Linked DNA regions of Homo sapiens: all the other regions are linked to region 4. The links are contacts of gene promoters, found by promoter capture Hi-C in blood cells and fetal thymus (Javierre and others, 2016). All regions are on one chromosome and are shown on one strand. Each heading gives the region's core, a stretch centred on a gene start or on the middle of the fragment in contact. The rest is flanking DNA. Distances are from core to core; before and after follow the strand shown. Region 1 has its middle 2.0 kb from the start of STK38L. Region 2 has its middle 140 kb from the start of FAR2. Region 3 has its middle 46 kb from the start of FAR2. Region 4 holds the start of CCDC91 (coiled-coil domain containing 91). Region 5 has its middle 160 kb from the start of FAR2. Region 6 has its middle 180 kb from the start of FAR2. Region 7 overlaps FAR2 (fatty acyl-CoA reductase 2).

Region 1 (3,928 bases), core at 1,159-3,658, 950 kb before region 4:
ATAAGAGTTTTGGAAGTTCCTTCAAATGATCTATTACTTAGGTCAATGGTTCTTAACCTGGGTCTGTGAACCTCAATGCAAAAACCATATATATATTACATATATAACTATGTATAGTTATATAGTTATATATATTACATATATGACTATGTATAGTTGTATAGTTATATATATTACATATATGACTATGTATAGTTGTATAGTTATATATATTACATATATGACTATGTATAGTTGTATAGTTATATATATTACATATATGACTATGTATAGTTGTATAGTTATATATATTACATATATGACTATGTATAGTTGTATAGTTATATATATTACATATATGACTATGTATAGTTGTATAGTTATATATATTACATATATGACTATGTATAGTTGTATAGTTATATATATTACATATATGACTATGTATAGTTGTATAGTTATATATATTACATATATGACTATGTATAGTTGTATAGTTATATATATTACATATATGACTATGTATAGTTGTATAGTTATATATATTACATATATCACTATGTATAGTTGTATAGTTATATATATTACATATATCACTATGTATAGTTGTATAGTTATATATATTACATATATGACTATGTATAGTTATATATATTACATATATGACTATGTATAGTTATATATATTACATATATGACTATGTATAGTTATATATATTACATATATGACTGTATAGTTATATATATTACATATATGACTATGTATAGTTATATATATTACATATATGACTCTGTATAGTTATATATATTACATATATGACTCTGTATAGTTATATATATTACATATATGACTCTGTATAGTTATATATATTACATATATGACTCTGTATAGTTATATATATTACATATATGACTCTGTATAGTTATATATATTACATATATGACTCTGTATAGTTATATATATTACATATATGACTCTGTATAGTTATATATATTACATATATGACTCTGTATAGTTATATATATTACATATATGACTCTGTATAGTTATATATTACATATATGACTCTGTATAGTTATATATATTACATATATGACTCTGTATAGTTATATATATTACATATATGACTCTGTATAGTTATATATATTACATATATGACTCTGTATAGTTATATATATTACATATATGACTCTGTATAGTTATATATATTACATATATGACTCTGTATAGTTATATATATTACATATATGACTCTGTATAGTTATATATATTACATATATGACTCTGTATAGTTATATATTACATATATGACTCTGTATAGTTATATATATTACATATATGACTCTGTATAGTTATATATATTACATATATGACTCTGTATAGTTATATATATTACATATATGACTCTGTATAGTTATATATATTACATATATGACTATGTATAGTTATATATATTACATATATGACTATGTATAGTCATATAGTTATATATATTACATATATGACTATGTATAGTCATATAGTTATATATTACATATATGACTATGTATAGTTATATAGTTATATATATTACATATTATGTAATTTTTTCACTAAACTCAAACTGAAAATTAGCATTTCTTCCATCATGAATGTAGGCAGCAAACCACAGGAATATTAGCAATACCTGTGACTTTTCCTCAATAGGAATCACACATATTTTCTACCCCATTAAAGTTGTTGTAGATATCTCAAAATATTGTTTCTGTGTATCATTACTACAAAATTACTGTAGGTCTTGATCTTATTATTTAATGCATTAATAAAGAGGCAAATATATAACTATTTTAGTTATCTATGGCAGTGTAACATAGTATCCCAAAAGTTAGTGGCTTAAAACCACAAATATTTATTGTCTCACAGTTTCTGTGGGCCAGAAATCTGGGCTTGGCTAGTTGGGCCTGCTGGCTCAGTATCTGGTTTTACAAGGCTGCAGTCTAGGTGTCAGGTGGGGCTGCAGTCATCTCAAGGCTCAACTGGGAAAGAATCTACTTCCAAGCTTACTTACATGATTATTGGCAGTATTCAGTTCATCACAGGTTGTTGGACTGGGGGCCTGAATTCCTTGGTGGCTGTTGACTGGATCTCTCTCAGTTCCTTGCCATGTGGGCTTCTCTGTAAGGCAGGTCACAAGACAGCAGCTGGCTTCCATGAAAGCGAGCAAGTGAGAGAGCAAGGACAAGCAAGATGGAGCCCAGAATATTTTTGTAACCTAATCACGGAAATGATATCCTAATCACTTTTGCTATATTTCCTTTTTAAGAACTAAGTTACTAGAGAAGGGAATTACAGAAGGCAGGAATACTAGAAGGCGTGGATCATTGGCAGCCATCTTAGATGCTACTACTACTTACCACATAATTATATTACAAACTCACTTTTTAGTATTTTGGTAACTGTATGTTAACATTATCAATTTCCTTTGTAACCCTAGGTAGTTTATGCATTTAAGAACACTGTTTTGAAAAGGGGTCCATAGACCACCAAAATTCTGGTTCATAGCTCTAATTTGTTTCAGTTGAGGTACTTTCAACAACTTCCCAGGGAAATTTGTTTACAATGGTCTCAATTTAGGAGAATTTAGGAACTAGAGGTCAAAGTCTTAGGCTATCCCATATTAACCTAGACTGCTACTCTATACTAGTTCATATTACTCTAGTATGGCACATTTGAAGACATAAATTTGCTGTGGAACAAACCATACACTGTTCTCAATCTTATCGTAGCATTTGAATGGTATGTGTATGCGTGCAGTACAGGGAGAAGGGTGTATAGGCCTGTCAAGCTTGTCTGATCACAATTAAACCTCCTATGCTTGTATATGACAACTGTCATTTGAGTTTCAAAATGACCATATAAGTGGAGCTGATCTCCCCAAAAATACACTAATTACCAAACTAGAGCTTTTCCCACTACTAAGCTATGTATGAAAAAGCACAGTGTAAGAAAGAGAAATGAGGTAATGCTTCTTTCCTAGGTGTTTTGCTCGTGTCACCTGCTCTTGGGAAACCTAAAGATGACAGGTGGCATTTCTAAGTGATAGTTTTTGCAAGCACAGTACCAGCTTCATACGTTGTCTCAGTAAGCTAAAAGCTAAGAATATTTTATAAGACCTCCAATACTCATATTGAGGATAAACTTGCCAACAATAATTGGGAGTCATTCTCTCATTTGGCTTTCCCAAAGGCCAGTTTTGTCCCCAGACGCAAATTGCATCAACCTTCCCAAAGTTGTCCCTTTTGGGTCATCCTATAGGGGAGTGCTCTTCTGCACAATTCTCAGATCCTACTGATAAAGCAGGCCAGTACTGTAGTTATTTTAGATTTTCCAAGAAAACTCAAACAGGTTTTTAATGTATTTTTTGTGGCATTTACAAATCCTGGTTCCTCTCCAGTCTCTGGAGTCCCCTCATGGTGAAATGGAAGCGTCAAGGAACCTGGGTGGCTTCGAGTCCCCACAGCTACCGACTGAGCAACTTAGCTGATCCATCTTTGTTGACAACTGTTTCCCAATCTGAAAAATGCGTGAATTCTCTCTTTCCATTTCTAACATTCTTTGCATTGCACTGTTTGAAAAATTCGGATGACATTTAGAATGTGACTAATGTCGCAACACATTAGGCCACTCTCAAGAGAGGCCTGAACAGGTTTGGCGTAAAAACGGCAGTGAGGTGAGGCTGGTGAGAGGGGAAGTGGCGACAGTTCAGTCAACTCCCTCAAAACCAGTCTGGCCTTCACCAGGCGGAGATGGGTGGGGCCGGGAAGACGGGCGTTGACGACAGAAGGCTACTTCCGGCTGTGGTGCGTATGACGTCAGGGCGAGTCGGACCGACCCAGCCACCGAGAAGCCGAGGAGGCAAGGCTCGCGAGAGTTCAGGGAGGCCGCCCTGAGATTCCGGCGAGGCCGCGGG
Region 2 (3,797 bases), core at 278-2,777, 820 kb after region 4:
AACAAACTGTGATCTATGTATTTTCATTATTTCATAACTGAATGGGCTCATGTTAATAATTTTTATAGTTGATTGTTGATGAAATCTTTTATCTTAGCTGTCTTTCATCAGAAAGGTTTTAAAGCTTTTTTCTTCTTTTAAGCACTGGTAATAGAGAAGTAGAATTAAATATATAAAAGCCCATCAAAAGAAGAGTGTAATTAAAGGCAGCTATATTGTCCTGGCAGTTTTTTAAATGAAGCTAAAAAAAAATAGCCTTCCATTTTGATTGAGCAACACATGTAATCAAAGTGCCACTAACATTCTTAATTTAAATGAGCAGTTTCATTTAAACTTTCATTTGTTCCTAGGGGTTTCTTTTCATCTACGGCTAAAGAGTATACACTTGGGTAATATTGGCCTTAATTTGAAAAGCTGACAGAATAGTCTTATAAAACTTCTCTTGGACGTTATGAAAACCTAAAATAGTTTCTCATTATTTATATAAAAGCTTCCACAAAGGGATTCTGATTTTTCAGTCCAACTTCCTTTTAAGTTACTTGTCTTTGTTGTTATAATTTGGATATTTGCCCCTCCAAACCTCATATTGAAATTTTATCCTCAATGTTGGAGTGGGGGTGCCTAATGGAAAGTGTTTGGGTCATGGAGGCCGATGCCTCATGAACGGCTTGGTGCCATCCTCGTGGTAGTGAGTGAGTTCTCGCTCTATTATTTCCTGTGAGAGTTCCCCTGAGACTTGATTGTTAAAAAGAACCTGGCTACTTCCTCCCCGTCTTGCTTCCTATCTCACCATGTGATCTACACATGCTGGCTCCCCTTGGCTGCCCCCCTGAGTGGAAGCTTCCTGAGGCCCTTGTCAGAAGTAGGTGTTGGCGCCATGCTTCTTGTACATCCTGCAGAACCACGAGACAAATAAACCTCATTTCTTTATTAATTATCCAGCCTTGGGCATTCCTTTATAGCAACACAAACAGACTAAGATATAGGTGTTTCTTAAATTTTAATACTTTGACAATCTGCACCAGGACTTCAGGAAGTCATGTAAAAATGCCAATACCCAAATTTTGCCAGACAGCCTGATTAAGTAGATCTCTATGAAGTAGAGACCAGGAGTTAAAAGCCCTCCCTCCAAATAATGTTTAATTATCTAAAATTGAAGAATCTTTTCTCTATTAAAAATTAACATGATTTTCATTTTCACAGAGATGTAGAAACTAGGACTATATTTACCCTCCCACCTAAAAAACTGCCTTTTAAAAAAGATAAAATATAATGAACAATAGTTTTCAGACATTAGACATCAAACAGTGCAGTGATCTCCAAGAGAATGGATACAAAATTAGATGATCCCCATGATTACCCCAGCAAAGGTTTCCAGGCCTCTGCACAGGGAAGGAAAATGCAGGAATTGCCCAGTTATCTCCCAAAGTAGAACAGACAAGATTTGTGACTTTGGAAATGTCCAAGAGGCTAGAGTATTCAGGCAAAGAGTCAGAAAGGAGAGGCCTGCACAGACAAGAAGTCCCCCAAAGCAACAGAATCCCACCCTCATTTCTTCAGCTGAGTACTGAGCATGATATGCATGTGAAGAAACTGCCCAAGCTGGGGAAAGAATTACCTAAAAACCAGAGGGAAAATCTTACACAGTTTTATGATTCCAATTACATGACATTCTGGAAAAGGCAAAACAATGGAAGGAGTAAAAAGATCCCTGATTTCCAGGCCTCCAAGGGAGGAGGGAGAGGTAAATATGTAAAGCACAGGACATTTTTAAGCCAATGAAACCATTCTACATGATACTGTAATGGTGGCTGCATGACATTATGCATTTGTCAAACTATACAACACTAAGATGAACAATAATGTAAAGTATGAACTTCAGTGAACAATCATGTATTGATATTGGTTCATCAATTGTAACAAATGTGCCACACTAAAGCAAGAAGTTAGTAATAGAAATAACTGTGCTGAGGGAGAGGGATCATATGGGAGCTCTCCGTATTATCTGGACAAATTTTCCGTAATTTGAAGATGCCCTACAAAATAAATCTGTTTTATAAATAGCAGACATGCAAAGAAGAAAATGCAACCCATAATGAGGACTAAAATCAATCATGCAGAGTCTCAGAAATCAGACAGATGATAAAATAGTGGACAAGGATAACAAGGATACTTATAACTCTACTCCAAAAGTTCAAGCAGGTAGAGGAAGTACTAAGCTTGTTAACTAGAGACCTGGAGAATATAATACCAAAAATCTATCTCTAATGATGAAAAATACAGCGTCTGAAATGAAAATGGGTAACAAACCCATAGACACAGGATCCTATCTCAAAAATGAACCCCAAGTTTTAATTCAATAATTTCACCTCTACCTTAAGAAACTTTGGGAAAAAAAATTAAACATGAAATAATTAAAAGAAAAAATAACAGTAAAAGCAGACAGAGGTAAGTGGGATAGAAAACAGAAAAACAATAGAAAAATGTAATGAAAACAAAATCTGTTTGGGGATCAATTAAATTGATAAATGTTGTAATAATTAATTTTATGCATCAAACTGACTGGGCCATGGGGTGCCCAGATAAAACATTATTCTGGGTATGTCTGTAAGAATGTTTCAGGATGAGATTTGCATTTAAATCAGTGGACTCAGTAAAGTAGATTGTCCTCCCCAATGTGAGGGAGCATCATCCAATCTGTTAAAGGTCTGTATATAACAAAAAGTGGAAGAAGAAGGAACTGACTTATTTTTTCCTGCCTCACTGCTTGAGCTGGGACATCTCATCTCATCTTCTGTGCTTAGGCTGGGATTTTATACCAGTGGCTTCCCTGGTTCTCAGGTCTTCAAACTTGGACTGAATTACACCACTGGCTTTACTGGGTCTCTAGCTTGCTGATGGCAGATTGTGTGACTTCTTGGCCCTATCTCTGAATACGGTTACATTGGGAGTTAGGGCTTCAACATACAAATTGGGGGTGAGGAGGTACAATTTTGGCCATAACAAGAGAAAAAAACATATTACTGTATTTGTAATAAGAGAGTTGACAACACTACAGATTATTTAGGCAATAAAACTATATTAAGGAAACATATGATTAACTTTGTGATTTACCCATATGTGTATATCCTTTAGGTTCTCTTTTTCTGAAAAACTGTCAAATATAAGCCTCTAGCTAGTATGATCAAGAAACAAACAAAAAAGGATATATTGTTGTGCTTGGGCTTTCATAACAGAATATTATAGATTGGATGTCTTAAACAACAGAAATTTATCACCTTAACTCCGGAAACTAAGATCAAAGTGATCAAGATCAAAGTGCCAGCAATATTATTTTCTGTTAAGTCCTCTCCCTTTGGTTTTCAGATGGCCACCCTCTCACTGTATCCTCATATGGCCATTTATCTACTTAAATACATACAGAGACACAGAGAGAGACAGAGAGAGAGAGAGAGATTTGGAGTCTCTTCCTTTTCTTACAAGGACACCAGTTTTATCAGATTAGAGTTCCACTCTTACATCTTCATTTAATTTTAATTACCTCCTTAAAGGCTTTATCTTCAATTACATTCACATTGGGCGTTGGGGCTTCAACATGTAATGGGGAGGAGGGACACAATTTAATCTACAACATTCCACCCTCTGTCCCCACCCCAAATTCAAGTCCTTCTGACATCCAAAATATGTTTACCCCATTCCAAGAGCCCTGAATCTTAACTCATTCCAGTATCCATTCTAAGTCCAAAGTCTCATCTAAATATCATCTAAATCAGGTATGGGTGAGACTCAAGGTATGA
Region 3 (4,172 bases), core at 1,372-3,871, 910 kb after region 4:
TGGATTTTTAAATATCTTCATTGTGGTTCATATCACACCATATTATAACTTCGTGTATGTGTATTTTAGTTTTAAACTTAATATACATGGTAATGAACAAAAAAATGATTTTCTCAAATTTTAAGCCTTACATGATCCTTCTCTTGCCTGAAATTAGGCTGTCCAATGCATACATTTTTTTGTATCCTGCCTGGATCACCCTAATTTGCCCTCCTTTGTTGGGGGGAAGAGGGATATATGTATATTTATGAACCCAGAGACAGAAATAAATGAACAGAAAAAGCTGGTGGTTCTGATTCTTTGCCATAAAACTCCAGGAGTTCAGTGAACTAAACTATGAAATTCTCTGTCTCTCTAACCAAGTGTCACACTTTGCCTGAAAATCACTAAAGATGTGGTTACAACTAGCTGTGTTCCTGTTATAAATAATGAGCCGATATTGATGTGTTATCATCAACTAATGTACATAGTTAACATTAGAGTTTACTCTTTGTGCTGTATATTCTATGGATTTTGACAAACGTATAATGATATATATTCACCATTACAGAATACTACAGACTACTAGTTTCACTGACCTAAATATCCCCTGTGCTACACCTATTCATCCCTCCTTCCTTCCGCTTGAGCTCCTGGCAACCACTTATCTTTTTAGTGTCTCCATAGTTTTGCCTTTTTCAGAACATCATATAGTTGAAATCATACAACACATTGCTTTTTCAGATTGGCTTCTTTCACTTAGTAAAATGCATTTAAGTTTTCTCTATGTATGTCATGATTTGAAAGCTTATTCTTTTTTATCACTGAATAATATTTGATAGTCTGCATGTACCACCATTTATTTATTCATTCACCTGTTAAAGGACATCTTGGTTGCTTCCAGGTTTTAGTAACTATGAATAAAGCTGCTATAAACATTCATGTGCAGGTTTTTGTGTGGACATAAGATTTTAACTCCTTTGGGTAAATACCAAGGAGCATATTGCTGGATCATATGGTAAGAGTGTGTTTAGTTCTACAAGAAACTGCTAAATAGTCTTCCAAAGTGGCTGTACCATTTTGCACTTCTACCAGCAATGAATGAAAGTGCCTATTACTCCACATCCTTAGCAGAATTTAGTGTTGTCAGTATTTTGGATATCTGCCATTCTAATAGTTATATAGTGGCATCTCGTTGTTGTTTTAATTTAAATCCCTACTGACATATGATACTGAGCATTTTCTCATTTGCCATTTGATATCTTCTTTGATTGTCTGTTGAGATATTTTGCTTATTTTTAATTGGGTTGTTTGCTTTCTTACCTTTGAGTTTTAAGAATTCTTTGCATATTTTGAATACCAGTTCTTCTAGATGTGTATTTTTCAAAGGTTTTCCCCCAGTCTGTGGCTTGCTTTATTCTCTTAACATTATCTATGTAAAGCAGTTTTTAATTTAAAAAATCTAGTATACTAATTTCTTCTTTAATGGATTGTGTTTTTCATGCAGTATCTAAGAATTCATGGCCAAACCGTAGTTAATCTACCTGTTTTTCTGCTGTCTGCTGGGAGTTTTATAGTTTGGTGTTTGGCACTTCATTAAAAAAAATAGTGTTTTCTACTATATTTGTCGTGATATCCAAAAATTCCCCACAAAAAATAAAAAGTCTTTTCTGACTAGTTATTTTCTACTTCTTCTATGGATTTAAATCGTTTTAGTCTACTAGCTTATAAAAATGAGTATTTTCCCTTGAAACAATTTTTATGTGCTTTTGGCTAAATGCATAGTTTACAAATAGACTGCAGATGAGCTAAAGATAAAGAGAACTGTTATCTTCATAATAATAATAGAAGTGCTTCCTGGTAAAATTTGCCCTGTAATCGTAGTCATCTTTAGAATGACTAAGGGATTGATTCTATCAAGAAGCCTATAATTGCTCAGGTCTCATCTTCAAGGTTAGGACAGACCACTAGGTTGGGTAGAAGAATATAGAGTAGTAAAGTGGAGGGGGTTTTTAAATGTTGTTTTAAACTCCCATATTTTGAAACATTTGCAAATAAATCAATTTTTAAATATAAAACAAACAAATAAAATTACAAAATTTAAATACATCAAAATGATAGAAAAAGAAAACTACTAAATACGTTAAAAATAGGTTGAATACAATGAAACTCACACCTGTACTTCATTCCATTGTCATCAGCCAGTCAAGGAAAGATACTGTGAGATCTTATGAAGCCAGCCAAAAAGAACTGCGGTTTTATTCATCAACTCTGGGCAGTGAAGCCTTTCAAGTACTGATAGGATCTGTAGCTACTGACTACATCAAATATTTTTTATCATCAGTTAACACACTGCAGAAATAATGATACCTACTTTGCATTTTCCCTATGTGTAACTTAACACAAGGTCATGAAAACTATACAACTTTGCATTTTGGAAACCAGGGTACATGTCAACAAGGGCAGGATTTCTTTTGCAGAAAACAACTAAGTTCCCTTTGCTGTTTTCATTTTGATAGGTTTTTTTCCTGAGTCCTTGCTGGAATAAAAACGATCATTTTTTTACAGTATTAGATTGGAATGAGTGGTTATATTTTTCAGAAATTTCATTGATATTTCTTACTACATTTCTTTATTTTGCTGTTTATTATGTGATGATAGTGGTTAATATTTATCAAGGGCTATATAATACCAAGCACTGTGCTATGCAATTTGCATTGATCATCTTGTTAATTTTCATACTAACTGATAAGACAGCTTTATTTTTATTCCCATTCTACACATGAAGGAAGACTCTACACATGAGTCTTGGACTTTAATGATTTGCCTGGAGTAACACAGGCAAATTCAAACCCAGGCCCTCTGGCTTCAAACCCCATGCCTTACGCTGTCTCATTGCAATATTTTCTTATGAGTGTTATGAAATTGAAACTGAAACTCAGTGATTATCACCAATATCTCCAAATTTCTAACCGGTTTCTTGCTTTCAGGGTTGTTCCTCTCAAGTTTATCCCATGCACAGCTACCACTGCGGTTTATCGAAAATGAAACCTACTCATGTCATTTCCTGCCTCACACATTTCGAGGCTTCTCCATGTTCTACAGAATAAGATCTAAGATCCTTAGCACAGCATCCAAGAGCCTCTCTGTGCAGGCCCCTGCTTCACATCCCTCAGTTCCCCCTTCCCACATTTACATTGTCACCATAGGGAACATCTTGTGCCTCCTCACACACACTCCACAGTCTTTTACCTTGTTTCTGAATCACACAAGCTATTGTTTTCTGCATGCATGGTTCTTCCCCACACTACACCAAAGCCTCTTTCCATCAGGGAAACATTTCCTATTTGTCTCCAAGAATCCTTCTCTTACCAAACATTCCCTTGCCCTCTACACTTCATTGGTTGATGCTTTCCCCTCTGCACTAGCAGAATATCCCCTAGAATTTTATTTATGACACTATATTACAGTAATAATACTAATGTCAGCATCTCCCACTAGACTATGGGTTCTTCAAAGGCAGGATAGACCTCACTCACTTTTAACTATGTATAGATCTTGGATGATGAAGAAAGAAGGCCAGTGCTGAGAGCTAGGAGAATGATCGAGTTATTAGCCCTACCTTTGGATGGTTCTCCATTACCATGTATCACTTTAGGTGCTTTTGGTTTGCTACCAAGAAAACCAAGGAGTAGAAAGAGGGAAGCGCAGTGGCTCCACTTCTCACCTGAGCCTAGTTTGAGGTCTGCAATTCCTGAGACATTACCAAGGTTCTTTTGTGTTTTCAGCTCCTGAACAGTTTGCTGTAGGTGGGACAGATCCTAAAAGAATCGTGTTAAGTGTATTAATGTTCCATCTAGTCTCAAAATAGAACCAGGAGTTAGGAAACATGTTGATCGAGGCAGTGAATCAGTGTTACTAAAAACCTTCAATTGCATCATGACTTTTTAAGAAAAATGTGAATTGAAAATGCCCATGTTTTATTTCACACCCATGGCTTTGCTCATAGTTGCCAAGACATAGATCTCAATACAACAGGCTTCCTGTTTCAATTCGAAGTAGTCTGGTAAAGAACAAAACAGTCATGTCTTGTAAGATACAGAATTATTTCTCCCTCCAATTATTTTTACAATGAAGTGTGATCTAATGCCACTGTCTCCCCTTTTGCAGACCTCACACTGTTCATTTATTTT
Region 4 (3,657 bases), core at 633-3,132:
AAAGATTTCATGGAGTTGGTAGGATTTGAATTCACTGATAAATAAGTGATATAAAAAGCAAAGTGATGTGCTATAGTGAATAAACAAGCCCTTCTGTTGGGCAGATCTGGCTTTAAATCCACTTGGTCAATTTACACTTCCTAAATCTGTAACCTCATCTAAAGTGTAAATATATTAATATACCTACTTTGTAAAATTATTGTGGTAAGTTATATATGGGATTTAAAATATTTAATCTAATGCCAGGCACATAGCAAATATTAATAATAAATATTAGTTACTTATTATAAATCTGTTTAGTATGGAATACAGTTTAGTATTGAATATCGGGACAGAGTGAACATGTAAGTACATCAATGGGAAGGAACTCCCAGAAACTAATCTGGTTTCCAGCAGAAAGAGATATGAGAGACAAAATAATATAAAGGTAACCTTACTAAGTTTAAGAAATATTTATGAATACCTTTTTTCTAACTACTAGACACTTTGCTAGACTGCTGGATACACAAAGACAAATGAGAAGTGAGTAGATTGCTGGATATACAAGTGAGAAGTGGTCCTTGACTTGGTAGTCTAGTAGACAGATAAAAAAATATGTGTAAGAAAGCATTACATTTCTTACAATAGAAATGTTTTTTGTATGCATAAAGAAGGGGGTGGGCTGGAAAAAGAATGTAGTCAAGGTGACTTGCTCAATACTGAAACTGCTCATTAACTACTTAGGCCAGCACTTATGGCAGACTTGTCAGGATGCCTTGCTAATATTTTCCACTTCCAGTACAGAACAGAGATTACAGGTTTAAGCCAATTTTGTTCAACAGATGAGAAACCCAGTGTCCAAGGATGAAAGAATACTTGTTATACAAGGAATGTGAATATTCCAGAGATTTATGCTCAAAGTCCCCAGGTTAGTGTCTTTCTTTCTCACTAGACTGTAAGCTTCTTGAAGACAAATATCTTGAGTGTTACCTTGCTCACTCTTGAATTGTCAAAACTTGGCCCAGGACTAGGTATGTGGTATACAATCAATAAAAATTTGTTGAATGAATGTTCTTCAAAATCCTTCCATGGCAAAAACAGAAGAAACATTCACGAGTGGACTGCTAGTTGACTGTTTCTCTCATCGCTATTGACAGTCTGAAATGGACAAAGACATCTATATAATCATTCCTTCCTTTCAAATAAATAATCTGTGAATTACGCTATTCTTTTCCTATTGCTTCAGGACAAGCTATTTGACAGAAAGCTTTTAAGAAAGGCTTTGCAAGAAAACTCTGCAACAGAGATGGCACGTATGAATTGCTGTGATCTGGAGTTGAAGACAAGAACAAAAGTAACTCTAGAGCAGAATTCTTTGACCAAAGTCATCTTACTGGTTGGCGGAGGCTCTCAGTCTACTTGCATCCGGTGCTTGAGAGTTCAGACAGGCAAAGATGAGAGGTAGCATCTAGTCAACATCCATTTCTTGAGCACTTACTACATGTCAGCCACTTTGCTTAGTCCCCGGTTTTACTGTGCTCTGCTAGGAAGTGGTGAAGAGATTCGGCGGGATCTTCTTAGGACCAATCCTACAAAGTTCCAGATGGAACTCATTTTGATTTGGGGGACGGTTTACTTGCAGGGATTAGGTGGAGAAACAGGGCCTGCTACTCAAGAGGAATGAGAAACTGTAACTAACAGGAGGTAGACTGGGAAGGAGCATGGCAAAGTCACCCCTTTTCACAGGGCAACGCTCCAAAGACCACGCTCAAGCTGGGGTGGCAGGGCTCTGAACATGGGGCCCCGACCCGGGCCTCGGCCTGGGGCCACGTGACGCGCGTGTTTACGTTGAGTGACGGGCGCTGTGTTGGGCGGGCCTTGGCGGAAATCAACTTCCGGGGGCAGAGGTGTTCGAAGCCGGGTGGTGCGTGGGCTACCCCAACCTGTGTGGCTGGGCCGCGGTCTCCCCTCAAGGGCCTGGGGCCGTGCCTCGGGTGTACGCGTAGGGGTCTGTGTGCTGGGGGTGGCTCACCGGGCAGCGTGGGTGAGCGGCGCAGCGGCGGCAGCGGAGAGCGAGAGAGGGGAGCAGGTAAGTGAACGCTCGCCTTCCGGGGCCTGGGTCTTGGGGTCGGGGCCGCGCGAGGCGAGCGGAGAGCGCCCCACCGGGGGAGGAGCGCGGACGAGCTTCCGCCGCCTGCAGCCCGCCTGCTGCGGCCTCGCCCTTGGCTGTCGCAGCGACCAGGAGTCAGGGGGCGTGACCAACCTCCTGCGGGAACGGAGCCAGCTCCCGGGGGTGGGAGTGCCCACTCGTTCCTGCGCTCGCCGGTGGGTACCGGTATCTGCACGTCCCAGAATCGAGTGTTTTCGAAAGTCTACGCCCACGAACACGTGATTATTGTGTCACCGAAGCGCCTACCGAACGGAGACCTTGATTCTTGCTTAGATTACACAGAACGCGCCTGGTTTATGTATCCCCTTTTACTTTGCCAAGTACATTGGGGTAAAAGCTCTACAGCGTCTGCCAGCCACATTTCCTTAGAGTTTCTTGGGCCACATGTTGCAATAAAAGTGGCATTTCAGGGTCAAGGCAGGAGCCAGTAACTTTGCCAAGTGGTGAGGTATCCTTCGTCCCCGTTAGCACGCCTCCCTTTCCCAACAATAAAGATATTTTCTCCATCTGCGCGTGTCGCCTACTGCGGAGGAAAGCTTTGGACATGAAACCTATTTTTGGCTTCACTTTAAGGAGTGGAACTCTATTAAAAGCTGCGCTGGTGTTTTTTTGGTAGGATGATGTTGCTGCTGCTACTCTCACTTGCTTCCTTGATGAGAGTTGGGGCAGAGCTCGATTTCCTGGAGGGTAAAGTCTTGGCCACAATTTTAGGTGACTCAGCGGCCCCTTATGAATTCTGACTCTTTCCTTCCCTCCCCTCTCAGCTGTGCGGATACTGATGCCACCTTTCTCTCCAAATATTAATCCGGGTGGGAGTTGGATGATGGTTTTTGGAAGCAGTTTGCATGTTGCGTGGTGGAGTTATTGGAGTGGGCTGACATTTTACTTCACAATTTAAGGCAACCCTTCCCCCCCCCACAATATTTAGTTGGGTGGGGTGACAGGGACTGACAACAAATTCGCTGTTGTGTTCCCTGCTGTCGGAGAGTTCTACACTTAATGATCACCTGATTGCCCTCTGCTACAATTTCTATTGCGTTGAGGGGATTGGTTATACTGTCTGTACCTATTAGGTAAATGTAGTAAGGGTCATGCCAGGCAGAGTGCACCTGCATGGTGTTGGCTAACCAGTAAACTGTGTGGTAGAGAATTGCCCTGGTTACGAAGTTTGGTATCCTCCAGGCTGCCTAGGAGGGTGTTCTGTGGGCTGGGAAATCTTATGAACTGGTTTCCTAGCAACAGTATAAGCCCAATGGAATAAACATAAAGAAAACAAAGTGATGAAAGTTACAACTTACCTCTTAACTTTTATTAAATGGAAAAATGTAGCTTCTTATTGGAGTGATCCACTCAAAACTTCTGAGACATTTTTGTTTATTTTGATCATCTTAGTACTTAATAACACACAAAAGAAACTGCAGAAAATCATTCCAGAGGGACATCACTTTGGTTTTGGGTGGCATTAAAATAGAGAAAAAAGACGTTTAAAAATGAGCTTGTCTGGAGCT
Region 5 (3,712 bases), core at 494-2,993, 800 kb after region 4:
GTTCTTCCCTAATGGATGTTGTCCTAATCAGGAGTAATTCCCACAGAGGCTTTTACAGGCAAACTGGCTGAGAATGAAAATCCAAACGGGTTTTAAAAAAAAAGCACACAAGCTTATATCTTTTCTGAAGTCAGATATGACCAAGGGGAATGTCATGATACATGCAGAGGGTTTGAGTGATGAGGAAATATGCCAAAACTAATGCCGTGGTTCTTTCTCCATCACTTCCTAATTAATCTCTGAGGCAGAACAGTCAGCCAGTTGGAGTGCTGAAATATACTAGAGGTCCCTGAGTATACCCTAAAATCATCACTATTGGAAGAACATCATCAACATATGGAAACATCTTTTACATCCATCTTCTGTCTTTAATCCTGTTCTTGTTTGAAAGAAGCCTTCATTCTATACTCCATGAAAAACATTACTGAAAGAAAACTGATGCATGACTTTAAAGCAAATGAAAATGAATACTATGCTGGGAGTTTTAAAAAATGGATAATAACCAAGTTCCTATCAAATCACTCATTAGCTATGTAACCAGGGGCACGTTACCTCCCTCACTCTCCTACAAAATAAGAGCATATTGCCCCTAAGGTGTTTTCTATTTCTCCAACTTATAAAAGAACTTAAAATAACTATTTATTTTAAGCAAAGCCTGTGGAAAAATGACTCCCCCCTTTTTCTGATTTGCCAAGATGCCCTCAACCTGACCCTGGGAGGAGGACTTGGAATTTTAAAAGAATGGACTTTCCTTTTATGCTTCAGCTTTTGGAGCTCGGTTACGTTAGTGTCATTTATGGAGTGAGATGCTGGAAAGCAAACAGTAAGTTTAGAAAGTAGGATGCCCTTTATGAGTCTGAATTCTTGCAGAAACTTTGGGCAGAAACTGGCTTCCAAAAAGCAGCACACTCACTACCACTTTCTCTCTCACTCTCCCTTCCTTTCCAGGCCCCCAGCAAGTCACCTGTGTACTGCCTTTAAGAAACACTTTTCTCTTTTATACCCCATGAGCACTTAAGAAACTCTTGGTCAAACTCTTTTCGTACCGGAAAATTCGTTGTTTCACTGTGGCCTCAGTAGCAATAGAGACTTATCTCTTTAGCTAATTAATCTTTGTCCAAAATCGTATATCTAGATTCAGCTTTATTTAGGGGACAAGTTGTAATTCTTCCTTCTTCTTACTTGTCCCTGTTTCCTTTTCTATTCTCTGAGCCATCTTTTCCTGTTGACAAATTGCCCCAGTCCTCCCTGAGGACTCGCCTCCAATCCTCCCCCAATGTCAAGCACTTCATCCATCTTTGTATTCTCTCCCTTTGCCCCATTTCTATGGCCTTACTGTCCTTTGACCGTTTGTCAGAAGATATTTAGTAAAGTACCAGTATACAGCAAGCCTTAGGAATTTCAGGGGAAATTTACCTGCTCCGGGCCTCAATTGCTCTAGTCCTGAGTCATCAGGTACAGCATATGGTCTGCTTGTCTCCTCCCTCAACAACAGTTGATACAATAATAAATTTGCCTGCACAGATTTTTTATTGCTCTCACTTGTTTTTATTAACAATAAAAAAGGACAGAAAATTGAGAATAAGAGAAAAAAGGTGACGATAGAAAAATTGAGTAGACGTATTCTCAGGTCATCTTTGAACAAATTAAGAGAAGCTGAACCACAGCCAGGCACGGTGGCTCACGCCTGTAATCCCAGCACTTTGGGAGGCCAAGGTAGGCAGATTGCCTGAGATCAGGGATTCCAGATCAGCCTGGACAACATGGCAAAACCCTGTCGCTACTAAATATACAAAAAAAAAAAAAAAAAATGAGCTGGGCGTGGTGGCACACTCTTGTAATCCCAGTTACTGGGGAGGCTGAGACACGAGAATTGCTTGAACCTGGTAAGCAGAGGTTGCAGTGAGCCGAGATGGCACCACTGCACTCTAGCCTGGGTGTCAGAGTGAGACTATTTCCCCTCACCATCCCCCCCACAGAAAAGTATAACTCATCCTTTACCTGAATCCCTGAATTTGCTTGGCATAAAAAGTCCTCACATAATTGGATGAGAGTGAACTCATTGCTTATTGGGTTATTGGGTAGCACTAAGGCAATATAACTCTTATGTGAGAATAGAGTCAGGACATGATAGCCTCTGATTACAAAGATGGTCATCTATCCCAATGCCTAATTTACTGAGAGATATGTTTGGAAGATCTGAGAAAGTGAAAGCTAACACAATTAATGATGGGATCCGAAGAAAAATATCAGCAAAGCATCCCGGTTCTGTGCTGCAAATGCCCTTGGTATCTCTGCTAGATCTGTTACTTTCTTAGCACGATTTATTAAATAGAGGTGAAAGCACAATTACCCATTGATCAATGGCAATGAGAATTGAACTCTAATTCCCTTCAGATCCTCTTCTTTATAGCTGCTTGGATTGACTGACTTAATCAAGTGGATGTTTATGGATTAAAAGTGAGAAATGAGTTTTTTCTTTTGTTTTGTTATTTAATTTGAGCTTTTACATTTGAATATTTAAGAAAAAAGGAAAAATTAGGCAAGTAGTACATCACTAACCACACACACACGCACACACGCACACACACACAGAGGTTGATCAGACTCTACTTGCTATTTATTCATAGTGTGATCATCTCTGGACCAGAAGCATGGACCTCAATTGGAAACTTGTTAGAAATGTAGAATCTTGAGCTCCACCTTAGACTTATAGGCTCACAATCTGCATTTTAGCATGAGGCCTGGGTGAGTTGTTGAAGCACTGTCCTCTAGCCATTCCTAAAAGGAGCAGAGGGAGCAAAATCTAATGGGAGAGAAGGAAGGCATATAATTGGGAAGAGAAAGGTGAATGCTGAAGTGCATTTCCGATCCCTGTTTTCAGCCTATGTCAAGCAGACCAACTCTTCCTTTAAAAAGTTGTAAAGTAGGACAATAATCAACACACTGCACTTTGTTGTTTTTAAGGCATCTTAGAAATTCTATCTGAAACTCAAATGGGTGCCTCCAGCAGAATTATGGTATTTTACACACAACTGTAAAAATCACCCAGGAAGGTTTTCCTCAGGCAGTATAACTGGGTCTCACATTATGGTATCCGGTCCAATCAGTGCTGTTTTTCTAAAAATAAAATAAACTTTTTATTAAAAATAAGCATAACCATAAATACACAATGTTCTCTAGTTGCTAATTGAAACAACAATGCACAATTTAGTGTAAAATGAAAAAGAAATACCTTTTGGTATCTTTTTCACTAAATAGTTTTCAATTGCTGTTTAATCTAATTGCTTTATATCCATAGAAACAAAACTTACCACAAGCCTTTCCTTAAAGTCAAAATAGCCTTACAGGGATATAGGACTTCAGCAGCATTTTGAAGCTTAAGCACAATTTGGCAGACCACTTTCTTCTACTTTAAAGCAATACCTACGTGCAAACCATTCATTGTACACTCACAGCACTTCAAATATCTTAAATGCTCCCTCCTGTTTCTGCTGGGCCTTTGATAGTGAGACAATTAGCTTTTTGATACAACCCCTATCATAAAAGAAGGCCTCCTCTTTACAATTCACCCATCCAGTGGGCACCAAGATTCTCTGATGAAACTAGACATGCTGTCTCTCCTTTTTCCCTCCGAGACTCTGAGCTTACCTTGAGATTTTCCTCAGAATTGATTTTTACACCAACTTAAATAAGTGTCTATACACTTTCC
Region 6 (3,672 bases), core at 61-2,560, 780 kb after region 4:
AGATGTCAATCAAGGCAAGGTAGTGAAGGACAGCATGCAAGACAGGGGAAGATTAGAACTGCCATTTTTCTATTATCAAGATATGGGTAACAGTAATTATTTTTCCTTAGCATTGGTACACACATGGATATGTATATTATCATGTCTCTAAGTTTAGGATTACTTGTTCTATAAAAAAATACAAAATTATAGGAATGTAAAAAATTGGAATTAGAAATATCATTTTTACACTTGCTTTTTTGAAAAATACATACATTTTAATCTGAAGAGTTTATATAATTTAATTTTATTGTATCCCTAGCACACGGGGAGTTGGTTATTTTTTGTTGTAATAACTTCTTGGGCATTTTTTCAGTCTTGACTTTAAACTCAAATCAGCTCAAGGACTGTATTTCCTACTTTACATGGTTATCCTATGTCTTAGCATGATATTGAGTTCATGGTAAATCATTAAGAACTATTTTTAAATGAATAGATAAGAGAGCTACCAACTTTAATCAGAAATGGCCATGAAGAAGGTAGAGTTTCAGCCTGGCAGATATACCAGGGAAAGTGGTTATAAGTTTAGGAAAAAATGCAGGGCAAGACGTTAAATCGAGGACTTGGGGCTTTCAACCTTGGGTGATAAGTAGATTTTCATAGCTAAGTTGTTAGTTGTGCACACAGAATGATAGAAAACTGGATGGAGGGTTTGCTTGCTTTTATTAAAGTGATCAATGAGACCATAGTTTGTGCTGGAATTTTAGGGCCAATGGTGATGTTGTGGAGTCTATGGATGAAGAAGCTGGTTCTAAAATGAGGTTTGTAAAATTATGTAGGCAAGGCCAGCAAAAAGTATGAATCCTGTGTAAGAACCTCCTCAGCATAGCATTCATTTTTAAAGATCATGGCTTCCTGGCCAGACTGCCTGGGCTCACATCTCAGCTGTGTCACTTACCAGCTGTGTACCCTGGGGCAACACATTGTGGGCAGCCTCTCTATTCGTCATATTTCTTATGTGTAAAACAATGATAATCATATTTACCTGTTATACCAAAGATGAAATTAGTTAACACGCATTAAAATAACATGATGATTTTCATACACATAAAGTGCTTAATAAATGTTAACTTGTTATTTTATTACCTGGTTTATGGAACTTTAAATGGCCCTACCAATCCAGAAATCTCTGCCATGGATTACTCTTAGCTCCTGTATATCCCAAAATTCTCATCTTAGAAAATTTAAGTCAAAAAGAGGCAACACTCTAAAGAAAGATTTCCAAAGAGCCACTCTTATAATGCACATAAATTATGTGAAAAGGGAAAAAATTATTAAATTATTAAATTGTGGGCTTAGAAAGGTCTGAGCATCTTATCCAACCCCATCATTTTACCAATGAAGAAAGCAGGGTCTAGAGAAGAGAAAATAACCTCTCAAAGTTTAGTGTGGACCCAAAAGTTTCTACCTCCCAAATCTTTTTGATTGTTTTACTTTTCCATCAAACCTTCTTCCATTAATATAATTGCTAAGGTAGCAGTTCATTAATTGGCTGGTTGCTCAAAGGCCTCAAGAGAAGACCCTAGATAGCTGAAGAAAAGTAGAGAACACCCTTTCTGGCATCCAAGGAACAGCAAAACATTTTTTAACCAAGGAGCACCCCAGATAATAAAAGAGGAGATGGGAAGGAGGAGAAAAAGGGCAAAATTTGGGTAACTCAGAAGTTTTCTTCCATCATGTGAAAAGGTATGAGGTGCCAGATGGAGTGGCTCATTGCATTCCTTGGGTGTTTGGTTGAAAGGATAAAAACGAAAGAAGCAGGAATTCCAGACCATCTATTCTAGAACTTTACAGATGGAGAGAAGTAAACACCCAAAACCAATGAATGCTCTGAAGCATACCATAACTAGATAAAGAATTTAAATGTTGGCTACCCTCTTGATGGAAATTGGATCTTAGTGAAACTTTTTTTCTTTCTCTCAGCAAGATTGGATGTCATACAAGAAATGTCAAGTCATATATAGCTTTGTTCTGAGAAACCTGTGGGTCTTCAGGTTTTCGTTACAACAGTTAATAATGGTTTCCATGTGATTCCAGAATAGCATAACTGTAAGTAACGATCTAGGACATCTAAATGTTTTAACTCGGTGCTTTTAGCTTTTCTGCAATAGGCAAGCAATGTGTTTTACTGGTAAATTGTATTTTAATTTATGTTTATGCTTTGTCAATGACTTATTTTAAGACTAGTAGTGTTCATGATTAGAGAGATTCAAGACACCAGATTTTTGCTGTATAATTTTTTACATATACTCAAATGCCTTTAGACAAAACAAGAACCTAATTTAGCCACCCACCAGCCACAGAAGTATCTGGGGCACATAATATTTTTCCATGGTGGCCAGGGTGACTGCTTTTTGAGCTTGTTTATTTGATCTGGGAAGACATAACTCACAAACAGCATCTGGATTTCAGAGATTCCTATATTTGCCCCCAATTCTCCCTTTCAGTCAATGGTATCCAAATGACTCATCTGCAAGGTCAGAGAGTTGAGTTGCTCGGCAAGACTAAAATGCAAGACTCTCTGGCTCATTCCCTGTAACCACCAAACCCCACAATCTCTGGATGTGTAGCATGGGAACCTGCATGAAGTTTTGCCAAGACCACCAGGTTACTGGGGAAAAAACAGTCTTGACAAGGTTAAGAGTGACCCTGGAGAGGTGTAGAGCTTGTTTGTTTTATTTAAGGAGTTCCCTGTAAGAGCAGAGGCCGGGGTGGGGTGGGGTGGGGAGGAGAAACTTTTTTTTTTTTTTTTTCATCAAAAGGTGTGACTGAGAACTTGCAATTTTTGATGACATGTTTCTCCCTGAGAGACCTTCACTGTTGGCAGACACAGTTGAGACACTGATGAAAAGCTGTGGGGCATAGTTTTTTGAGGCCTCCAAGAGAAACCCCACAGTTTTAACTTAATCCAATTTCAGTGGGGTGAGTAGCTTGGAGCGAATGAAGAAATAAACAAGTAACGCTTCTTGAACACTAAAACCAGAATGAAACAAGGTTAGGCCATGACAGTTGACAGTGTCAGCTTGACCTGTAGCCTCTAATCAGCCTGAGAATTATGCCTTCCCTGGTTTTTACCTAGTCTCTTCATTTCTTTTACTGTACATACTTCTGGAAACAGTCCACTTGCCTAGCTTGAAGTACCTACCACTCTGATTTTTCGCAACAACAAATTGAATTCCATAGTTGATTTATCATATCAATATTGCATCATCAAGATATGCTTCAGCATAAAAGGAAGGGTCAAGGAACATAGAGACTTCTAACTGTCATTTTAGTAAATGCATAATAAGGCTAGAAAAAGAGAAGAAATATCTACTCATTTCTTGACCAAGTTTATTAGCTGGTGACTTCAGTTAACATTTAACTCCAGGTTTCTCTTACATTTTTAATGTTTTCTTTCTTTTGTTTTACATTTTTGATGTAAGAAAGAAGACTCCAGTTTTTTTGCACTGTGTGAAATCCAGCTCTAATTATGTCCGTATGACATCATAAATCCACTAAGAATTGGACAGTTTTATTATTTGGGCCTTAAAAGAACACCCAAAATAAAGGTTAATGCTTATATAATGGTAATTATATAAGGACATATCCTCAAAATGAACAAACAGAAAACCCCACATAATACTTAGGATT
Region 7 (3,655 bases), core at 54-2,553, 970 kb after region 4:
GGATAGAATTTTTAGGTTGGAAGAAACCATTTCCATCATTTTATTTCAGTGTGGTAGAGAGGCAGATATTTCCACAGTTAATCACGGCCACAGAAACAGGAGCCCTATTGCCTAGATCAGGGTTTGTCACTTACTAGCAAGTTACTTGAATGTTCTGCATTTGGCTTTCTTCATCTGTAAAATGCAGGTGAAATGCAGATTGAACCATGCACAATTGCCCTTTGTAGGTCAAAATGGTTGAGTGTTGGCAATTTCATATGGTTTGACCTAATAATAGATACCCTCTAAGGGGCTGTACTGAGAAGTAAATGAGTTCGTGTGTGTTACCTGCTTAGGACAGAGCTCAACACGTAATACAGTACTATGGAAGTGTTTCCCTTATTATTAAGGCCATTTAGCTTTTTCAAAATCGATTGCACCAAGCTTCATTTAGGAAGAACAATCAGGAATTGCATAGTACACCTATTTAGGTCTCTTTCCCATTCTTCACTTATGCAGGCACGAGGCCTTGATGAGGCAGTTAGTCCCTAGGAATACAGCTGGGTTTACTTTTGCCGACGCGGCTGCTGCCATTTTGCTTGTTTCTCATGCCTGCATCTAGACAGGAATTGGCTTCTGCTCCAAAAGGAAATTTAGCATCAAAGTTCTCGGATGAGCTAGCTTCCTCTCCCTGTTCTTTTGTCCTCCACCCTCACTCCCTCCCTAGCCCAACTCTTGGTACCAGCAGGCCTAGTTTCCATCTCCCTCACAGGGTGTGATATTGGTGACATACTGGTCATCCAACATCTGAAGGCCCTTGGTATTCTGGACACCCCGGCTGGCCCTGCAGAGACGGGAAAAGGAGAAGGGCATATCTAAGGCTAAGAAGAGGGAAGAACGGAGGGGAGAGTGAAGGGAGCTCCAGCTCTGAGCCATGAACTGAGGAGTAGGACAGACACAGAGGCTACTGAAGAACCCTGTTCTAGTTGCATGACTTTGACGAGTCTTAGACTGTTCGTGTGATGAGTCTCCAATTGTGCATGAACCAAGATGCAGAGAGATGTTAAAGAAGCAGGAAAAACAAAACTAAACTAAAGATGTATCTTTCCTGTGTCTTTTAAATCACAGGGACACAGTAGCAAGCTGGACACCCTAGCAGTAAAAGCAGTATGAGTGGAGTTCCTTACAGAACTATTTACTTGCTGTTGCCTGGTGTCATAAACAGATTAACGATGACTCATACTGTTGGTTTATAATATATGTTCCAGTTTGTGAATTGTCTTTTCACTTCCTTTTTTGTGTGTTTTTGAAGCACAGAAGTTCTTACTATTAATGTAGCTGAAGTTGCTGAATATTTTCTCTTTGTTTTCAGGTATTTGTATCTTGCTTAAGGAGATGATTCCCTATCTGCTTCACATTTTAAGTAATTAGTATGTAAACCTCTCCTACGTTAGGCTGTGGTTTCAAGTTTGCAACCATTCAAGTTTGCAATAGTTTATTTTCTCTTGTTGGTGTCACCCTAGTGATACATTTTACACAAAAGAAGGAAATACTCTAAGGATGAAATTCAGAATTACAAATTATGGCTGATTAAAATCACCCTTACTAATTACTGAATGTTTCACAAGTGCAAGACACTTTACAAAAAGTTTGTCGCATCAATCCCAGGGATCACAGACGAGGAAAATTAGGCCCACAAAGTTTAAAATGTAATCATTAAGCAAGCAATTAACATAAAAATATAGTTATTATTGAAAGCATAATTTTGGTTAGGAGAGAGTTCCAACTCAAAAATCTCCTTTGAGAACTAACCTAAAGAATGCTTTGGGTGTTGAAATATTCCCATTTTGTTTGAATGTAGTAGACACATTTCTATTAAAAGTAGCATCATATTTGCCTGAAAATCAATGAAAAATGATTTTCTTCTTTTTCGATGATCAAATTTTTCAAGAACAGAGTGTCTTTGTTATCAAGGACAGTTTGGAAAGCAGTTGTACCAAATAGGTAAACATTTGGAGCCTTGAAGAGGAAATTAGCTGTTGAGGTTAGAGTTTCCTTGCAAATTCAATACATTTAAGTTCACAGAGTTCTAATATTCTAATACATGGTAATTAAGAAAAAAAATATAGAACAGAGTTATCAGGTGTCCAAATGTCCTAGATGTTGTTGTATAGGAAAAACAGGAAGCAAATAAACACCTGGTAAAAAGCTTTCTCCTGTCCTATAGCAGTTAGAAGTTGTAAATTTCTTTCATCAAAATTTCAGTCTTGGCTCTGTCACTAACAGCGGCCTTAGCCAAATCACTACTTGTCTCTGATCCTCAGTTTCCTCATCTGTGAATAACAACATCTACACTATTTATCTCCCAAGGTTTTTGTGAGAAGATACTGAAATATGTGCATGAAATGCTTTGAGAATTGTTAATATAAAGTCTAAGATGTAAATTATAAGAGTTGCTGATATATTAATAGTAAATGGTATTGACAGTATCTAAGACTGATAAGGTCTTTTGTGTGTGTGTGTACAGACTTTAATATCTATATCTATACATAATTTTATACATGATAATAGTAATTTTCATTTAAATTACATTTAACACTCCTTGGAGGACTTATTATGTCCATTATTTTATGTGAGTCCCTGAGTAACCTTGTGAGGTGGACCAAGTGTTGTCTTATCTTTCCATGTTGATAATGCAGATCTCTGCTTTCTGACCAAAAGGAAAGCCTCTCCTCTTTGGCAATTTCCATAGCTTCTGTCAGTCCTTGTTGCTGTTGCCCGTCACCTCCAGATTATTCCCTGATATTTATCAAATATGTGGCTCACATATGTCCTCTCCTTTCCTACTTCTGAGAGTATTCTTAACATTGAAGTCCATGTGGATGAACATTCAGCACTCTGATGCTTTGACCTCACACTTTCATCAGTTTTCATTTTAAGCACTAAAGCACCCGATTTTTAGAAACCTACTTCCAAGGCAAGTCCTCAGGCTTTGACATTGCTCCAGACAGCTATATCTGAAATCTCTAAATCTGACAGTTCACTCTTGGACAGTGACCTTCTTTACTTCCAGCTCTCTTAGTTTCTTTCTCCCCCTATAGCTATGGTTCCAGTTCAGCAGGACTTTCATTCTTTAAACTCCCCACGATCCCTGCCCCTGATACAGATAAACATATGCACTTTCTCATAGTCAATGAGCTTCCTCTGGATCTTGCTTCCTTCTCTGTGTAGCCTAGGTCAATTACTTTAAGAGTACCCTTGCCAACTGCTTCTATTCCTACCCTTTTTATTTGTTACTCCCAATTTGGATCTTGCCAATAATCGATTTTTCCTGCTCCAACCACCAGCAGTCAGGCGTTGCTGGAGAAAAACCAGGTAAGTATGTGTATGAAATGGAGATGGTACAAATCCATCGCTATCCCCATTGGATACTCTGCTGCTTTCAGCTTCTTTGCTGGTTTCTGGTGTGTTTTCTATTCTATCTGAAGGAGTTGTTATAAATATTTACCCCTTTCCAGGAGCTTTTTCCTTTACTTGCAACTTTTAAATTAACATTATATGATCTTGCCTCACACTCCACAGAGAAAAGAAAAATAACCAAAGATCTGTCTCTGGTTCTGCTCCAACCTCCCTCTTTTCCTTCTTTTTAGAGGATGACATGACATTCCCCTATTCA

The links. Contacts are between HindIII fragments. The CHiCAGO score rates a contact against its expected background, and 5 or more counts as called.
Region 1: a contact is called between a fragment that was not itself captured here and the fragment with the promoter of CCDC91 in region 4, in 4 of 17 cell types (non-activated CD4 T cells, total CD8 T cells, naive CD8 T cells and 1 more). The highest score is 6.8, in non-activated CD4 T cells.
Region 2: a contact is called between a fragment that was not itself captured here and the fragment with the promoter of CCDC91 in region 4, in 1 of 17 cell types (endothelial precursors). The highest score is 5.6, in endothelial precursors.
Region 3: a fragment that was not itself captured here is called in contact with the fragment with the promoter of CCDC91 in region 4 in 2 of 17 cell types (naive CD8 T cells and fetal thymus); the score reaches 5.6 in naive CD8 T cells.
Region 5: a contact is called between a fragment that was not itself captured here and the fragment with the promoter of CCDC91 in region 4, in 1 of 17 cell types (endothelial precursors). The highest score is 9.0, in endothelial precursors.
Region 6: a fragment that was not itself captured here is called in contact with the fragment with the promoter of CCDC91 in region 4 in 1 of 17 cell types (endothelial precursors); the score reaches 6.7 in endothelial precursors.
Region 7: a fragment that was not itself captured here is called in contact with the fragment with the promoter of CCDC91 in region 4 in 1 of 17 cell types (erythroblasts); the score reaches 5.8 in erythroblasts.

The regions. Positions count from the first base shown.
Region 1 is chr12:27,240,291-27,244,218 of GRCh38, forward strand. No RefSeq gene overlaps it. Among named protein-coding and RNA genes, the nearest start is that of STK38L, 2.0 kb to the right of the region's middle. RefSeq lists an enhancer at 2,707-2,766 and a silencer at 3,825-3,928. The HindIII fragment of the contact is 786 bases long and covers 2,016-2,801 here.
Region 2 is chr12:29,005,160-29,008,956 of GRCh38, forward strand. No RefSeq gene overlaps it. Among named protein-coding and RNA genes, the nearest start is that of FAR2, 140 kb to the right of the region's middle. The HindIII fragment of the contact is 1,379 bases long and covers 839-2,217 here.
Region 3 is chr12:29,100,693-29,104,864 of GRCh38, forward strand. No RefSeq gene overlaps it. Among named protein-coding and RNA genes, the nearest start is that of FAR2, 46 kb to the right of the region's middle. The HindIII fragment of the contact is 3,674 bases long and covers 785-4,172 here.
Region 4 is chr12:28,188,574-28,192,230 of GRCh38, forward strand. It overlaps CCDC91 (coiled-coil domain containing 91), which reads left to right and starts at 1,883. Exons shown (of 13, transcript NM_018318.5): 1 at 1,883-2,068. It overlaps LOC729291 (a long non-coding RNA gene), which reads right to left and starts at 2,165. Exons shown (of 1, transcript NR_148936.1): 1 at 1-2,165. RefSeq lists silencers at 1,850-1,899, 1,930-2,359, 3,043-3,337. The HindIII fragment of the contact is 1,439 bases long and covers 1,245-2,683 here.
Region 5 is chr12:28,988,311-28,992,022 of GRCh38, forward strand. No RefSeq gene overlaps it. Among named protein-coding and RNA genes, the nearest start is that of FAR2, 160 kb to the right of the region's middle. The HindIII fragment of the contact is 3,267 bases long and covers 111-3,377 here.
Region 6 is chr12:28,971,841-28,975,512 of GRCh38, forward strand. No RefSeq gene overlaps it. Among named protein-coding and RNA genes, the nearest start is that of FAR2, 180 kb to the right of the region's middle. The HindIII fragment of the contact is 7,454 bases long and covers 1-3,672 here.
Region 7 is chr12:29,163,760-29,167,414 of GRCh38, forward strand. The region is part of intron 1 of FAR2 (fatty acyl-CoA reductase 2); the gene reads left to right. Among named protein-coding and RNA genes, the nearest start is that of FAR2, 16 kb to the left of the region's middle. The HindIII fragment of the contact is 1,765 bases long and covers 422-2,186 here.